Linked DNA regions of Homo sapiens: all the other regions are linked to region 1. The links are contacts of gene promoters, found by promoter capture Hi-C in human tissues and cell types (Jung and others, 2019). All regions are on one chromosome and are shown on one strand. Each heading gives the region's core, a stretch centred on a gene start or on the middle of the fragment in contact. The rest is flanking DNA. Distances are from core to core; before and after follow the strand shown.

The links. The method cuts DNA at HindIII sites, captures the fragments that hold promoters and counts their contacts. A contact is called where the count stands out against the background at its distance.
Region 2: a contact is called between a fragment that was not itself captured here and the fragment with the promoter of LENEP in region 1, in 1 of the 25 tissues and cell types used here (liver).
Region 3: a fragment that was not itself captured here is called in contact with the fragment with the promoter of LENEP in region 1 in 1 of the 25 tissues and cell types used here (IMR-90 fibroblasts).

The regions. Positions count from the first base shown.
Region 1 is chr1:154,991,758-154,995,612 of GRCh38, forward strand. LENEP (lens epithelial protein) reads left to right here and starts at 1,829. Exons shown (of 1, transcript NM_001394530.1): 1 at 1,829-2,558. The coding sequence starts at 1,851. The coding sequence ends at 2,036. It overlaps FLAD1 (flavin adenine dinucleotide synthetase 1), which reads left to right. Exons shown (of 7, transcript NM_025207.5): 6 at 956-1,029; 7 at 1,145-1,354. The coding sequence ends at 1,280. The HindIII fragment of the contact is 8,242 bases long and covers 1-3,346 here.
Region 2 is chr1:154,490,975-154,494,829 of GRCh38, forward strand. All of the region lies in intron 2 of SHE (Src homology 2 domain containing E), which reads right to left. Among named protein-coding and RNA genes, the nearest start is that of TDRD10, 9.3 kb to the right of the region's middle. The HindIII fragment of the contact is 7,313 bases long and covers 1-3,855 here.
Region 3 is chr1:154,655,956-154,659,810 of GRCh38, forward strand. No RefSeq gene overlaps it. Among named protein-coding and RNA genes, the nearest start is that of ADAR, 50 kb to the left of the region's middle. The HindIII fragment of the contact is 9,513 bases long and covers 1-3,855 here.

The DNA of each region.
Region 1 (3,855 bases), core at 579-3,078:
GGGAAGATCGCTTGAGCCAGGGAAGTCGAGGCTGTAGTGAGCCATGATCATGCCAGTGCACTCCAGCCTGGGCAACAGTAAAGGCCCTGTCTAAAAAAAATAGGGCTGGGCACGGTGGCACACGCCTGTAATCCCAGCACTTTGGGAGGCCGAGGCAGGCACATCACGAGGTCAGGATTTCAAGACCAGCCTGACCAACATGGTGAAACCCCATCTCTACTAAAAAAATACAAAAATTAGCCGGCTGTGGTGGCGCATGCCTGTAATCCCAGCTACTCAGGAGGCTGAGGCAGGAGAATTGCTTAAATCTGGGAAGCGGAGGTTGCAGTGAGCCAAGATCGCGCCACTGCACTCCAGCCTGGGTGACAGAGCAAGACTCCGTCTCAAAAAAAAAAAAAAAAATAGGGCCGGGCATGGTGGCACACGCCTGTAATCCCAGCACTTTGGGAGGCCGTGGCGGGCGGATCATGAAGTCAGGAGATGGAGACCATCCTGGCTACACAGTGAAATCCCGTCTCTACTAAAAATACAAAAAATTAGCTGGGCACAGTGGTGGGCGCCTGTAGTGCCAGCTACTCGGGAGGCTGAGGCAGGAGAATGGCATGAACCCGGGAGGCAGAGGTTGCAGTGAGCCAAGACCACGCCACTGCACTCCAGCCTGGGCGACAGAGCCAGACTCCGTCTCAAAAAAAAAATAGACGGTTTCTCCCTGTCCTCAAGCTCCACCCTTGCACTAGAGGGTGGTTCAAGAATGGAAAGCAGAGAGTGGAGAAGATGAAGTCCTTCTCTTTCTCTTTGCATACATAGAGCAAGCTATACCAGAGAATCAGATAGCAAGCCCTCCCTCAGAGGCCAAGGGAGCAGAAGAGCCATGGATGGGCCCCTTCCCAGGACAGCAGGGGTAGAAGTGGGAAAGGTGAGCATTTGTGACTATTCTATTACTCTGACCTCCCAGGACTGGACCTACAGAGACATCTGGGATTTTCTGCGTCAGCTGTTTGTCCCATACTGTATCCTGTATGACCGAGGGTAAGGGTATTAGGGGAAGGGAATGGGTAAGGGAGTTTTTAGGGTGCTGGGATAGGGAGGGCCAATAGGATCGCCCACCCTACCACATGCTTGCCCTCCACCCTCCCTGCTCCAGATACACATCACTGGGGAGTCGGGAGAATACCGTGCGGAACCCGGCCCTGAAGTGCCTGAGCCCAGGAGGACACCCCACATACCGTCCAGCCTATCTACTGGAGAACGAAGAAGAGGAGCGGAACTCCCGCACATGACCTCCCACCCTAGGAGGGAGGGAAGGACACCGTCCTAGGGTATAACCTGGCAATAAACCGTGCCTCTCACTGTGCCTGTTGCTCTAGCTGTGTCTTCCTGCTCCAGAGGATGGGAGAAGCAGAAGTGGGTCAAATGCTGCCAGCTCTGACTGGCTGTGCTCACTCTAAGGGGCCCAGGGGCAGGGCAGAACAGGCTGGAAAGGAGCTCTCACTGATGGTTCTCAATGTCAGCCTCAGCAGGAGCCCACCAGAGGGCGAAAGCAGGAGTTGTGCCAACCACTGGGAAAAGGGCAATCAGGCAGGGCACCACCTGGGCTGGAAGAGGGGAAGCTGCCTTGGCCTAGCTGTGGAGGATGAAAGATGGAGTGGCCAGGCCCTCCCTCCCACTAACCCCACCCTCCCATCCCTGTCTAGAGGGGCTGACTCAGCCTGTTCCCAGGCCTAGAACCTTCCCTTTGCTAGACCCTGGATCCTTTGTCTCTGTAGTCATGAGGCTGAAGGGGGTGGGGACAGTGTTGATAAAAGGCACTAGAGGCAGCTCCCACACCCTTCCTCGGAACTGTTGCCCACATGCAGCCCCGGACACAGCCCCTAGCCCAAACCCTACCCTTCTTCCTCGGAGGGGCCCCTCGAGACACTGGGCTGCGGGTGCCTGTCATTAAGATGGGCACAGGGTGGGAGGGCTTCCAGCGGACCCTGAAGGAAGTCGCCTACATCCTCCTCTGCTGCTGGTGTATCAAGGAACTGCTGGATTAATGGTAGCAGGGAACTGCCTCCTCTCCCCACCAGCACCATGGCTGGCATCGCTCAGGTGGGCAGGGTAGAGTAAACAGGAGGCATAGCTGCAGCTTCTGTGGCAGAGCTTGCCTTAGCTTCTCATTCTCTTCTTTAGCCCCCAGCCCAATTGCCATCAAGACTCCTGAAGCCAGCTGTGCTTGACCAAGGATGGGCCATAAACAATGAGTAAACAGTAAAGTGTGGATCCTGCTTTGAGCTGTGTCATCTAGCAGACCTGCCTCATCTCTGAGCCTCCTTCATTCCCAACCCCTGCCTCTGGTGGACCTCTGGTGGGCAGGAGCTTGGACTGCTCTGGCTAGGACCCCAGTAAGATTGTGGCAAGACCTGGCACTCCTCCAAGCTTGGCACAGTGAGCCCACCAGCTCAGATGGTTGATCTTACCATACCCTCATAGTACCAAGAATGGACTGCCCCCTAAGAAACCTGTTTGAGAATCACTGAATTATAAATATAATCCATAGGCCTTGAGGCCCAAGATTATAAGTGTCTAAAGGGGAATCAGAAAAAGTCAGCACTAGAACGGTCTGGGAGCAAGGGTGCAGACCAGGGAGGGAAGGAGCTTGTCCTGAATAGAACCAAGATTGAAAGCCAGGTTTTCTGACTCACTGGTTCCTGAGTGGGGAGGGTGGAAGACAGTTCAGGTTCCTCTCAATCTGTGGGTAAGGAGGGGACCCAGCTTGAGTAGGGTCTTCATCTGTGAGGCCAAGGGTGTGTGGAAACCCAGAGGACCCAGCCCTTTCCCAAATAGAAGACCTGGTCCAGGCAGCTTCCTGCCTCTGAGGATCTTGGGGAAAGCACTGCGCTGAGGCTAGTCCCCAGCTCATCAAGGAAGTAGGACCCCATGAGCTACAAGAGCTCCCAGCTCACATACAAAGTTACCAGAGAAAGACACCTGTGTGGCCACACAGGTCCCTCAGGCTTATCATGACACAGCCCTATCAGGACATAAACAGCTAGATTGAGCAGAATTGGCTCTTTACTTCCTCTTGGTAGCCACAGCTGGTATTTTCCATGAGTTACTCCCGGTGGTAGATATACACCAGCCATGTGTATCGTCTTGCTCAGGGGGTGCTTATGCTTACTGATCTGCCCACCCACAGCCCCCCAAACCTCAGAGCCAGCCTGTTTGGGACTGTTCAGTATTTCCCTGGGATTCCCATCCAGCATTCTCTGGCCCCTCCTGGGGGGCCAGTTATCATCCCCCAGCCCTTTGTCACTTGGGGCACTGGCCTGGAGATTATAGATAGTGCCCTCTTCCTCCCTGCCTGGGACCAGCTCTTCCTCAGCCTTCTTCTTAGTTAACTCTTTTTTTTTTCTAGATTCTTTTTGTAAAGGTGATATATGCCCAGAGTAAAGAACTTTAGGCCAGGCCAGGTACAGTGGCTCACACCTGTAATCCCAGCACTTTGGGAGGCAGAGGCGGGCAGATCACCTGAGGTCAGGAGTTCTAGACCAGCCTGGCCAACATGGTGAAACTGCATCTCTACTAAAAATAATTAGCTGGGCGAGGTGGTGAGTGCCTGTAATCCCAGCTACTTGGGAGGCTGAGACAGGAGAATCACTTGAACCCGGGAGGCAGAGTTTGCGGTGAGCTGAGATCATGCCACTGCGCTCCAGCCTGGGGGACAAGAATGAAACTCTGTCTCAAAAAAAAAAAAAAAAAAAAAGGCCGGGCGCGGTGGCTCACATCTGTAATCCCAGCACTTTGGGACAAGGCCGAGGTGGGTGGATCACTTGAGGTCAGGAGTTCGAGACCAGCCTGGCCAGCATGGTGAAA
Region 2 (3,855 bases), core at 603-3,102, 500 kb before region 1:
CACAGTGAGAAGGAACTAGCAGTACAGGGTGGTGAGCAGCCTGGGGTCAAGGAGCCTTGCCAGAGTTAGAGATGGCTGGAGTCTGGACAACCAGAGCTGGTGATACAGAGTCTATATTATAGACCAACAGAAATGTCATTTTGTGGCTCTTCTAAACGCCCATCAGGAAGCCTTCAAACCATCCTCTACCTGGTCATAGTCAAGGAGGAACTTTCTATATGCAGATACCTCATCTCTTAACACCTCATAAGCTCCCGACTGTTTACTTAAGAAGTGAAGAACACTGAGAACGGCATGGGAGGCTTACATGAGTAGGTCACTGTCTTTCTCCCCAATTTCTCAACACTACCCTGCCCCATCTCCCCATAATCCAATTCTTTGCTCTGACCAAGTGGAATTTCTGGCAGTTCCCTGCATACTACACTGTCTTGAGCCCACCGGTGTCCTGGCGATCTTGCAATCCTTTACAATCTAACTCAGCATCTTCTCCTCTCCGGAGAAGGCTTTCCTGCCCACCTTCTTCTCTGATACCCCACAAAGTTAAACAGGTGCCACGGCTGGACCAACGCACTCTCACCCTGCTCTTCTCCCACTGCATCCATTTATATGTTGATGTGTCTGTATTTTCAATTTGGTGGAGTCTGCCAGGGCAGAGACCACCATATCTTGTTTATTACTGTAGGACATATCATTGTGCTAAATAATGACTGGATGGATGGATGGGAGGAGAGAGGGAGGGGAGGGAACTCAAGAATGTCTCCAGGCAGGTGACAGTGTGGATCTGGAGGAATACGTCAAGGGGTTAACAAATGGATCGTTGTGAATACTGTGAGAATGAAAGCAATCACAAGAGAAAAGGACGGCAGATTGAAAACGAGAGAGGATCAAAGGCAGAATCTGGGACTCCTTCAGTTATGGGTGGCTGGAAGGAGGTGCCAGCAAAGAAGGCTGAGGGGTCAGGTGAGGAGGAAGAGGCTCAGGAGACCGCAGGGCCGCAGACACAAAGGGTGGAAAGACTTTCTATCTGTAACTTCAAAACAGGTGTGGGGATGGTCCGTGGAGAAATGCCACTGACTCATTAAGACCTCTATAACAAAAAGAGGGCAACAAATGAGGGAAACGTTATTAAAATCAGGACACCAAATTCAAAAGTGCAAAACTTAGGTATAGGCTGAGGTTATAGTTCTCTGCTGACTAGGGGCTGTCAGCAGCTGTCTCAAATTCTGTGCAGGGACAGCTCATTGAAATCACCCGCGGGCTTTCACACACACTGCTTTAACCACCAGAGGTTCAGATTGGATTAGTCTGGGGTACAGTGTGGGAGTCAAGAGTGTAAAAATCCCCCAGGTGATTCTAAAGAGCAGCTAAACCTGAGAACCACTTCCACACCTCCTGGGTGTCCACAGTCCCCATCTTGGTTCCTCATTCTCCGGAGCCTGTCATTGCTAGTCCCATCCTGAGGAGAAAGGTACTGCCTGTGTCTACCACTTCCACATCAGAATGTAAGAGTCGGAAGAACTGTCCCTGGCCCCCACCCCCAGGCCAGGCCAGGTATCTGGGGTTGTCTGAGGTCAGAGCTGCATCTCCTGAGTCCCTGGACTCTCAGTCCTACAGTTTTTCTTCTTCCTTGCTTACTCCAAACAGAGCTATGGAAAACAAGAAACAAAAACATACTCTGTTCTTGGTTCAATTAAGACAAGGCTGTAATTTTTTTAAAAGGAACTTTTCTAAAGAACTAAGAAAAGGGAAGCAGAAAACACAAAGGAGTTCAAAGGATGAATATAGAATACAATTTTAAGGTTTCTAATCATAGTTTACACTCAGTTGAGACCATCTGGCACAGGCTGGGGAAACCCTTTCCCAAGGTCCTTGCTGCAATTCTGCCCCAGCTAAACTAAAAGGAAAAAGAGGTGATTCTAACATTAAGACAGAAGGAGCCCTGCTCACAAGGACATTTCAATACATTTGGATTAAAATGTACAGGGTGGATGGGCAGTGTTCCTACCGGGCCTTCCAGCCCACCTCCCCTAAAATAAAATAAAATGATGTATAGTGATTAGAATCTTGAGTTCTTATTACACACGCGTTTGAGTTTTTACTTTTGCAACGAGGTCCTTCTATTTAGACAGTCTCCCCACACTTAGAGTTCTGGGAGATACACAAAGCATGGAGTTGAGAATGCTTTCTTGCAGGGTCCTGGGATTAGGCAAAATCTGCAAACTGCTATCATCTTTTGAAACAATGTTTAATTAGGGGAAGAAAGGGCTTGAGCACAGGCCTCCCCTCCCCACACCACCCCCCTCTTCAAGGGGAGTAACCTTCCAGTCCATTCCAACACCTGGCTGCCCCCAAACCTGAGGCGCCATAGAAACAGAAACAATCGTGGGGCTGCAAGCCGACCCTTCCTGCAGGGAGAATAGCCCCTGACGTGCAGAGCTGGCTCCAAGAGGAAACGAGCCTGAGAAGGAGGAAATGGCAAGAGGAAGCTACACCCTGGCTGCCGATAGAGGCCATTTACCACAGCAGACAACAGAATGCAGGGGACGGGCAGCAGATAAACACTCATTTGCAGCCTGGGGCTGAAGCTCAGCACTGACCTGCACCTACTAAAAACATGCAGTTGGTTGGTGTGAAACATTATAGGGGCCCAAAATTTTCCCTTCTCAATCCCCAACTCGCTGCAGGTAATTATGTCATTCACATGAAAACACAAAAACAAGAAAGTCTTAGCAGAAGACTAAGATTTTCTTTTACTAAATTAACTGTAGTTAGCAATAAGTATTGCCCTATATGGTCCAGAATGCTCTTTGGAAATATAATTGTCTCTGGAGTGTCTAACTCACGGCTGTACTGACTAGGTATACACCTGCTAGGTGTATTATGCCCAGAATCTCACTGATGCCTCACTAAGGCAGTGACAGATGTGTTACCCCATTTTCACAGGTGAATACACGGAAGCCACAGTCATGCAGCAGTTATGGTGAGGCCAATTATTACCAACTCCAGAGTCCATGCTTTATGCTCAAATGATTTCACGTAAAATGTTAATTCCAATTTCCAAATAATGTGCCTTTTCCCCTAATCCATTTTAACCCATTTCATGTTTCCAAAACATTAAACTTGGAGCCTCTTAAGACTCTATTTTCCTCCTGGAATCAGAAACAGGGCTGCCCGACAATTTTTTACTCATATCTTTGATCAGTGCTCAAGCTTTTAAAATTACTTTAATATTTTCTTATTGAATAAATCTAAACATCTGAACAAAAGCAGGTACAATTCAGAAACCCTGAAATTTAGCGAGGAGAATAAAGACAAATTAAATCAAAACCAGTCTTCATTTGCACTTTTTTCCATAAGAGGTTTTTTCTGTTTAAATCACAGGCAAAGACAGACATAACAGTTTTTTTTTTTTTTTTTTTTTTAGAGATGGGGTCTCACTATATTGGCAAGGTTGGCCTTGAACTTCTGGCCTCAACTGATCCTCCCACCTTGGCCTCCCAGAGTGCTAGGATTATAGGCATGAGCCACCGGGCCCGGCAGATGGAGTTTATAGTTTTTTTTTTTTTTTTTAATGGAGACTCGAACAGTGAGGTTCTCTTTTAGATTTGACTATTTAAACAAACCAACAAAATCATTTGGAAGTAAAAATAAAATTTTAAAAATAATCTTTGACTGGAGCTCAAAAGCTAAAACCACAGCTTGCTGAATGACATGGTATTTTCAGTTGTGTAATTTGAACAAATTATTTAATCTTTCTGAACCTAGGTTTCCTCAACTGTATAAAGAAACCCGCTTGCACGGTGGCTCACTTTGTGGCTGGCAATCCCAGCACTTTGGGACGCCAAGGCAGGAGGA
Region 3 (3,855 bases), core at 690-3,189, 340 kb before region 1:
TTCAGTTTAGTAACATACAAAACCTCTGCTTCTTTACCATTCTCTCCCCACCCCTTTTGGTTGTTGATATCACAGAATCGTGTCTTTATACATTGTGTGCCCCAAAACATAAAGTTATAATTATTTTAAATTTATTAGTCTCTTACATTATGTAGAAAACAAAATGTGAAGTACAAACCAAAGTTATAATAACATTTAGACTAATAATTTCTTAAATCACATAGAAAATAAAAAGTGGAGTTATAAGCCATTTTTACGATAATACTGGCTTTTATGATTTCTTATGCGTTTGCCTTTATTGAAATCTTTATTTCTTCATACAGCTTTGAGTTACTGTCTAGTGTCTTTTCATTTTGCCTTGCAGGACCCCTTTGAGCATTTCTTGTAGGGTGGATCTACTGGTAATAAACTTTCTTAGCTTTGGTTATCTTGAGATGTCTTAATTTCTCCTTCACTTTTGAAGGATGCATTTGCTGGATGTAGGATTCGTGGTTAACATTTTTTTTTTCTTTTAGCACTTCAAATATATTGGCCAGCTGCTTCCTGGACTCCAAAGTTTCTCATGAGAAGTTCTCTGATAATCTTAATTAGGATCCCTTGTGTGTGACAAGTTGCTTTTTTCTTTCTGCTTTCAAGATTCTCTCTTTGTCTTTCAAAAGTTTGATTACAATGTGTCTCAGAGTGGGTCTCTTTAGTTTATTTTACTTCTTGGGTGTCTATATTCATGTCTTGTATCAAATTTATTATGTGTATATATTTGTGTAACCACCACCAAAATCAAGATAAAGAACAGCTTCATCATTGCAAGGCTCCCTTGTGCTACCCCTTTATAGCCACAACCAGTCCCCCTTCCCCTCATTCCTAATTCTTGACAACAATTAACGTGTTCTCCATCTCTATAATTTTGTTATTTAAGTAATGTTATATAAATGAAATAATACTGTATGTAGCCTTTTGAGATAGGCTTTTTTTTTTCAACTCAGCATAATTCCCATGAGATTCATCTAGATTGTTACACGTATTAATAGCCCATTCCTTTTTATGACTGAATCCTAGTCCATGGTATGGATATACCAGTTTGCTTAACCACTCGCCCATTGAAGTATACTTGGGCTATTTTCAGTTTTGAGATGTTATGAATAAAGTGGCTATAAACATCTGAGCATAGGTTTTGGGTGACTATAACTTTTCATATCTCTGGGATAAATGCCCAAGAATGTAATTGCTGATTTTATTCTTTTTTAGAGAGTACCTTGGATCATCTTGGCTCTTTGCTCTTTCACATATATTTTAGAATTGGCTTGTCAAAATTATGAAAAACACTTTAAAGTTTTGATAGAAATGGCACTGAATCTATGAGACATTTGGGTGAGAATTTAGGATATTGAGACTTTCTAGCCATTGATAATATTTCTCTCTTTTTACTTAATTCTTCTTAATGTATTTCAATAAAGCATCATGATCTTCTTTGTATCAGTACTGCAATTATTCCCAGGTGCCCATACCAGTCAGGAAAGACTGGTTGTGTTATGGCAATAAAACAACCAAAAAAGTTTATTTCTTCCTCATGCTACATGTTCATCATGAGTCAGGGGGCTCTATTCCACATTTTAATTTTTTTCTATCTGTTTTTTCACCTTCTAAAATCCTTAGAATGTTCCACATTTTCATCATTCTTACTTTGAGGCTCAGCCTGAAAGGGAAGCTACTGTAGAACATTGCCAGTTGTGGAGGGAAAAGGGAACTTGGAGAAGCATGCACTGGCTCTTAGGCTTCTGGCTGGGAGTCTGTCACTTCTGCTCACTCTGCATTGGCTAAAGCAAGTCTAAGGCTAGCACTTCTCATATCATGTCTCTCTCTCTCTCTCTCTCTCTCTCTCTGTGTGTGTGTGTGTGTGTGTGTGTGTGCGTTTCTGTCTCTATCTCTCTCCACACGTACACACACCCTCTCCAAGCATCTTGGGAGACCTGAGCCAACACATAAGAAGTCTAGCTACCCTGAAGCCACCATACTAGAGAGATCATGTGTAAAGACCTCACAGAAATAGCGAGAGATGCCTCCAAAACTGAGCTGGCAAGTATTCTCTCTTTTTCTATCGTCCACAAAAACTCCTATAAGATTGGAATGATCTTCTCCTTGAAAATTTCATATAACTCACCTGGAAAATATCAGGGCTTGGTATTTTCTTTGCGGGAACACTTTAAATACTGATTGAATTTCTTTAATTATTATAGAGCTATTCATTCTGCCTTTCTAGTCTTGAATCTGTTTTGGTAAATTATATTTTCTAGGACGTTTTCCATATCATCTAAGTTTTGAATTATTAGCATTGATTTGTTTATACTTTTATGTTTAAATGTTCACTATAACCATAGTTATAGATTTTTATCTCGTTTTCAGTTTTCAGTATTGCTTATCTGTACATGCTGTTTATCTCTGTCTCTTAAATTTTTCCAGAAGTCTTTCAACTTCAAAGAATCAATTTTGGCTTTGTTGATCCTCCGTTTTCAGTTTCATTACTTTCTCTACTTATTGTTATTTTTTTCTTCCTACTACTTTCCTCATGGTTATTCTGCTGTTCTTTTTCTGATTTCCCAAGTTGGAGATTTAGCTCATTATTTTTATTCTCTCTACTTTTTAAATTATAAGCATTTAAAGTTATTAATTTCCAACCTTTTCGGTGTTGAAGTCTTAATTTCGGCAATTTTGTTTTTTATTTCTACAATTTATGTTTGACATTTTTTCATATCAAGGTCATTTTTATAGTCTTGTTCCTCTATCATGTTTTAAAATCTTCTTAAAAACCTGTCAATTCCTCATTTGTTTTACTTCATATGGTCACGTCAATGCTGAAGTCTTTGCGAGTCTGATTTTGCTGTTAATTTCTCTGCTGACTTTCTTTCTTTTTCTTTTTCTTTTTTTTTGAGATGGAGTCTCGCTCTGTCGCCCAGGCTGGAGTGCAGTGGCGCTATCTCAGCTCACTGCAAGCTCCACCTCCCAGGTTCACGCCATTCTCCTGCCTCAGCCTCCCGAGTAGCTGGGACTACAGGCGCCTGCCACCACGCCCGGCTAATTTTGTTTTTGTATTTTTAGTAGAGGCAGGGTTTCACTGTGTTAGCCAGGATGGTCTCGATTTCCTGACCTCGTGATCTGCCCCCCTCGGCCTCCCAAAGTGCTGGGATTACAGGCGTGAGCCACTGCGCCCGGCCTCTCTGCTGACTTTCTCACATGGTGTCTTTTCCTCATATGTATCCTGTAATTTTCATTGTGATCTCATGTTTGTTGGAACTGCACCTGTGAATAATCTTCAAAATTTACATTAAAGGTGTATTCCATTAGAAAGGATTTGTTTTTCCTCTGCTAAGTACATTAGGGACACACCAAACTTGGGACCACTTTACATTCTTGGCTTGGAATTGTTTTGACCAAACAGGTAGCATGAATTTTGGCACCAATGCTTTGTGAAGGACAACTTAATGCTTATGAGTTATTTTGGGGGAGATTTTATTTCATTTTATTCAGAGGTATGTCCTTCTCCTTTATGAGACAGGCTTTTCTTTCTAGTTCATTCTTTCACTGAGAGGATAGCCCTTTGGGGGCCCTGACTTTATGGAAGATTTTACAACCAATTCTCCAGCTTGCAAGGGCACTAAGCTTTGCCTTTTGGTTTATAAAATAGTTGATAGTGATAGGTTACTGGGGCTCATAAGATGCCCATTGGAAAGCTGCTGGATTCAGTGCTCATTCACCCACTGGATTTGTGCTGTTGATTTATTTTGGACTCTGAGGAATTCCCTTACTCTTTGCCAGCTCAGCTATGCATAAAAAGAGATTTTTAAAAAGATTTTATTCAGT